2 separate regions of the Homo sapiens genome follow, and region 1 is linked to region 2. The links are contacts of gene promoters, found by promoter capture Hi-C in blood cells and fetal thymus (Javierre and others, 2016). All regions are on one chromosome and are shown on one strand. The core of a region is centred on a gene start or on the middle of the fragment in contact, and the rest is flanking DNA. Distances in the headings are between cores, read along the strand shown.

Region 1 (2,995 bases), core at 429-2,928, 310 kb after region 2:
TTCACTGCAACCGCCACCTCCCAGGTTGAAGCGATTCTCCTGCCTCAGCCTCCTCAGTAGCTGGGACTACAGGCATGTGCCACCACGCCAAGCTAATTTTTGTATTTTTGGTAGAGATGGGGTTTCCCCATGTTGGCCAGGATGGTCTTGATCTCTTGACCTTGTGACCATCTCGGCCTCACCAAAGTGCTGGGATTATAGGCGTGAGCCACCCTGCCTGGCTCTATCTTCTCTTTTAACTCCAGTGTCTTCCCTGAGACATTCTGTTACACCAGGGGTTTGGTCTAGGTCCTGTTGCTTGCTGCAGAGAAAGCCAATCACTGAGTCAAGGAGTATTGCTGGGGAAGAAGGCCTTATTTGGGTGCTGCAGCCAAGGAGAATAAAGGATCAGTCTGGAATCCATCTCCCCAAGCAACTAAAATTTGGGGTCTATAAAGTAGGGAAGAAAAGTAACTATGTGTGGGAAAACAGGAATTAAGGAAGGGTAAGAAAGAGGACTTGGTCAACAGGCAAGTGGTCAGTTAGGCAATCATGATGAGTGAGGCATCTGGTGTCTCATTGTTTAGATGTGATAATCTGGTAAGTTTCAGTTCCTTGAAACATTCTGGGAGGCTTGATGGTTGGTTTACCGAGAAAGGAACCCAGATAAGACAAATATAACTTTCTTAAGTTTTACCCTGGGAGGGTCAATTTCTAAGTTTATTCAGAAGAAACCCAAAACATCTATTCTTTGGGATAGTTGGGCTGGTTTTAATTTCTTGCCACTCAAATCACTTTCCTTTCCATTCCTACCTACTGCTTACTCCAAGAAGTAATTGCTCCAATAAATTATCATGTAGTACTTGTTATGCATTTTTATTATTTAAATTTTACATCACCTTGCCTTCCATATAAAGTGACATCAGGCAAGCCTTTTCATCTCTCTAAGCCTCAGTTTCCCCATTTGTAAAATGGAAATGTAATTATAAGCCTTATGTAGTTATTACAAGTTTAAAAAAAATATTTACAAAGCAGTTAAGCACAATGCCTGGGATTTGATGAGTTTTGCAAAATGATGGTAAATATTATTTCACATCTTTATCTGATCATGAACTCCTTAAAGGCAAGGACTACATCTTATTCATTTTGTTTTCTGGACATGGGGTCTGGTGCTCCATGAATGTTTGTTGAATTGCATTTCCTGCCCCTGAATAGAAGCTAGGTCTCTACATATGCTTCTATATCTCAATTTATTTATAGGCCTCTTTGAGACCTTTAAGTGATACACTTTACAAATAGTCATATATAATAATAATATCTATTTATTATTTGAGTCTTTTTCCTCAAAACTATGACTAACAGAAAATTAAATCTCTCCACAGGTCTTCTAGAGTGCACTAAAGCAGAAGATAACGTAACATTTTTATCTTACCATGAAAGTATTATCTGAAGGACAGTTAAAGCTTTGTGTTGTTCAACCAGTACATCTCACTTCATGGCTCCTTATATTTTTTATTCTAAAGTCTATCTCTTGTCTAAAACCTGCTCGACTTCCAATTTATCAAAGGAAACCTTTTATAGCTGCTTGGAATGCTCCAACAGATCAGTGTTTGATAAAATATAATTTAAGACTAAATTTGAAAATGTTTCCTGTGATTGGAAGCCCACTGGCCAAGGCCAGGGGGCAAAATGTCACTATATTTTATGTCAACAGATTGGGATACTATCCGTGGTATACATCACAAGGGGTCCCCATTAATGGAGGTCTCCCACAGAACATAAGTTTACAAGTACATCTGGAAAAAGCTGACCAAGATATTAATTATTACATCCCTGCTGAAGATTTCAGTGGACTTGCTGTTATAGATTGGGAATATTGGCGACCACAGTGGGCCCGGAACTGGAACTCAAAAGATGTTTACAGACAGAAGTCAAGAAAGCTTATTTCCGATATGGGAAAGAATGTATCAGCTACCGATATTGAATATTTAGCCAAAGTGACCTTTGAAGAAAGTGCAAAAGCTTTCATGAAGGAAACCATCAAATTGGGAATTAAGAGCCGACCCAAAGGCCTTTGGGGTTATTATTTATATCCTGATTGCCACAATTATAACGTTTATGCCCCAAACTACTCTGGGTCATGCCCAGAAGACGAAGTCTTGAGGAACAATGAGCTCTCTTGGCTCTGGAACAGCAGTGCTGCTTTATATCCTTCTATCGGTGTCTGGAAATCCCTTGGAGACAGTGAAAACATTTTGCGCTTCTCCAAATTTCGGGTGCATGAATCCATGAGGATCTCCACCATGACATCTCATGATTATGCTCTGCCTGTATTTGTCTACACAAGGCTAGGGTACAGAGATGAACCTTTATTTTTCCTTTCTAAGGTAAGAAGCTTCTTGTCCAATGGTGGGGGATTTCCTCCTTATCTCTAAAAGGACATTTCTTTGTTAATTATGTTCTTTGAAGAATTGATTTCAATTAATGGTTTGTTATATGGGAGCATAATTCTTCCTTGACTAGTCATGCATTTAGACTCTTCATTTATGGAAACTGAATTTTGATTATCTTACTCATTATTATTCTCTTAAGGAACAAAGTAAGGTGAGAAAGGGTTAAAGTAGATACCAGCAACGACTACATTTCCTGCACACCAACTTTAACTGTACTCACTTACAATCGGGCATTTTGGAAGGTTATTGAAATGATCGGCAGTGAGCAGGTTAGACAATCAAAAAGGATGTTTTGAAATGGAGTGTTTGCTCATACATGTGGAAGCAGAATTGTCTAGCCACTTAAACAAAAAAATTCTAGGGAAAGTAGTGGGTATTTTAATCTTTGTTTTGTTTTTTTTTTTTCTTCAAGATGGAGTTTTTTGTTCTTGTCACCTAGGCTGGAGTGTAATGATGCAATCTCGGCTCACTGCACCCCCCACCTCCTGGGTTCAAGCGATTCTCCTGCCTCAGCCTCCCAAGTAGCTGGGTTTACAGGTGCTCACCCCCCCCCACCCAGCTAA
Region 2 (2,908 bases), core at 376-2,875:
AGCAAGACTGAGAGAAGAGCAGGTTTTAGGCAGAAGATCAGGAACCCCATTTTGGACATGTTAAGTTTGGGTTGCCTGTCTGACACATACAAATAGAGATGCCCACTAAGCAATTAAATATTCAGGACTTTTATAAAGGAAGAGGTCAGTGCTTTACATGGAAATCTGTTGTCAGTGTATAGGTGGTATTTAAAACCGTTCTCTATTTGGATTTGCTCTCTCTTGGTGACAGAGTACAGGTCCAAAAGAAAAGGTCCAAGAACTAAATCCTGACTAACTCAAATTTTAAAAGTGGGCATAAGAGAAATAACCAGAAAAAGAGAAAGCCAAAGAGTAGGGGGAAAAAATCAGGAGACTGGGGGAGTCCTGAAGCCCAGTAAAGAAAGCGCATGATGGAAAAAGTGTCAAATGTGTCAAAAAAAAAAAAACGCTGCTATTAGGTCAATGAAGGTGAGAAACATAAGCTGACCATTGGATTTGGCAACATGGAGATAACTGGTGAACTTGAAAAGAGCGTGATGGAAAAAGTGTCAAATGTGTCAAAAAACGCTGCTATTAGGTCAATGAAGGTGAGAAATATGAGCTGACCATTGGATTTGGCAGCATGGAGATAATTGGTGAACTTGAAAAACGCCAAGGGTGACTGAGTGCATTCAAGGGTGAATAAGAAAGAAATTGGAGAAAATAGAGATAACTCTTTTGAGTTATCTGTAAAGTGAAGCAAAGAAATGGTGTGATTATAGAAGGGACAAGAAGAATAAAAAAATTTTGTGGGTTTTTTTGATGAAAACATTCGTGAATACAGATGGAAAAGACCTAACAGAAGGAAAAGGGGGCAGTACCTTTAGTAAGCCTAAATATATGTAATCCAACGCACCTAAGCAGAAACGGTAAGGCAAGGAGAAAAGATGGAAAACGGAGATATAAATTTGAGATGGCGCTGACAGAAGCAAGCACAAGTGAAGCCATGAAAATGTCAAGGAAAAAGTCAACAAGAAAACTGGCTTAATAAAGAGGTCATGGCAAAAATAAATAAAAATGTGACATCGGATCAACGAAGTAGGTGGACAGCGCCCGTGTCTCAAGAGCTCACGCGGCTTGTAATTAAGGGCTTGAAACATCTGTATCCCGTTAACCCTGCAATAAGCAAAGTGACAGGAATTTAGTCTTCCTTGGGAATTCAAGAACGAAGAAAGAACAAAGGTACATACCTCGTGAGGAGTATTGCACACAGCCAATCCCACAAGGCCAGTGGTCTGTTCAAAAACAAAACACGATTCATGCTGTTTACTACGGTTTCCATACATCCAGCACGCTAAGGAAATACAAAACCACGAATCCCCCGGCTAAAACTGGTCTAAAGCCAGCTACTGGTCTCTCAGTCTCGCTTGTTTGGAGCTTTTTTCCTGACTCTCGGAGCGGAACCACTAACCTGCCCTACCCGGTAAGGCATGCAGAACGAGTCCCCGAAAAGCACCGCCGAGCCCGCGACAGTAGGGGTCAACACCCGCGGGAAGTAGGGCTATCGGACTGAGTCTACCCCCACAGTCTAAATTCCAACAGTGACCTCCATTCGTCTCACCTTCTTCAGCACACCCGCCATGACAGCGCCAACGACTCGGTGACGCACAACCCTTTGGGAACAATTCTCAGACCTGCTCAATCGACCACCGAGGTCGCCACTCTGTCACCCTGGAAACAGCTTAGCTCCACCCCTTCAGGATCGCCAAAGGAGCAAAGACTCTGCCCCGCCCATCTTAAAAGAGAAAAATTGACGCATGCGCGATGGGCATACAAGCCTAAAGCTAAGCTAGAAGACGATTGGGGAAAGAAAGGGTTTCCCAGCTGTCTGTTCCTGTTCCTGCCACTGCTGACGGCTTGCCCAAAGATTGAGGGAAACACTCCCAACTACCAAAAAACTCCAGTCGCTGTAGGAACCTGCACTGTGCTTAACCGTTGATGCATTCCTCAACCTTCCTTTCTCAGTTTAGTAAAATGAAAGTGATAACGGAGCTTGAGCATCCTCTGAATTGATCTCTCAACAGCAAGTTAGTTCTTCGCACAAGGATATCAGTATTCTCTGTGTCTTACGAACCAAAGCCCTATGGAGTGTGAGGTCATTTTCCATCGCTCTTTTCGATTTCACTGGCTGAAATACATCATCTTATTTCCAGATGAAATGATATCAGACCATACCACTTTTTCCTACCTCCACAAACACTGACCACTCACTATGTGTCAGTTACTGGGACATAATTTCTAAAATGGGATTTCACATCCTGGAATTCAAAGAATAATGAAGAAGGCGTGTATTAATAAATAATTTGGTAACTGTTCTAAAAGAAGTTGATGCAAAGTGTGATGGTACCAGGGAAAAGGAAATAACTAAAAAGCGTGGGTGACTTTCTAAAAAGTCAGTAGGAGAAAAGAACAAATTGAGAAAACACAAGTACAAAGGAAAAGAGGTTAAAAATGTATATATAAATTCCAGGTGATTTTATGTGATTGGAAAGGTGGGTTTGATTGTTAAGGTAAACTGGTTAAGATTATGAAAGGTGTTGTTTGCCATTATACAAAATTTGAATTTTACTTTTTAAGGAATGGGAACAATGAGAAGACTTTTAAGCTTCTAAGTGACACCATCAAATTTATGTTTCAGATATACAAACAACTTAGGCAACAGTTGAAGAGAATGAGTTGGAAGAGATGAGGCCTTTCATTAGAGGCATGAGACTAGAAAAAATGAAAGCTAAACCAAAAGCAAACAGAAGAAAGGAAATATTAAAGATTAGAAAAGAAGGAGACAGAATATCAATAAAGAAAATCAATGAAACCAGGAATTGGTTCCCTAAAAGGATCAACAAAATTGGCAAACCTTTAGTGAAACTAAGAAAAAAAAGAGAGAAGA

What was found. The method cuts DNA at HindIII sites, captures the fragments that hold promoters and counts their contacts. A CHiCAGO score of 5 or more calls a contact.
Region 1: a fragment that was not itself captured here is called in contact with the fragment with the promoter of NDUFA5 in region 2 in 1 of 17 cell types (M2 macrophages); the score reaches 8.5 in M2 macrophages.

Annotation. Positions count from the first base shown.
Region 1 is chr7:123,866,862-123,869,856 of GRCh38, forward strand. HYAL4 (hyaluronidase 4) reads left to right here. Exons shown (of 5, transcript NM_012269.3): 3 at 1,362-2,366. The coding sequence starts at 1,413. Among named protein-coding and RNA genes, the nearest start is that of HYAL4, 23 kb to the left of the region's middle. The HindIII fragment of the contact is 477 bases long and covers 1,441-1,917 here.
Region 2 is chr7:123,556,193-123,559,100 of GRCh38, forward strand. NDUFA5 (NADH:ubiquinone oxidoreductase subunit A5) reads right to left here and starts at 1,626. Exons shown (of 5, transcript NM_005000.5): 1 at 1,583-1,626; 2 at 1,212-1,256. The coding sequence starts at 1,603. RefSeq lists enhancers at 756-1,334, 899-2,098, 1,335-1,913, 1,654-1,703, 1,964-2,103. The HindIII fragment of the contact is 10,047 bases long and covers 1-2,624 here.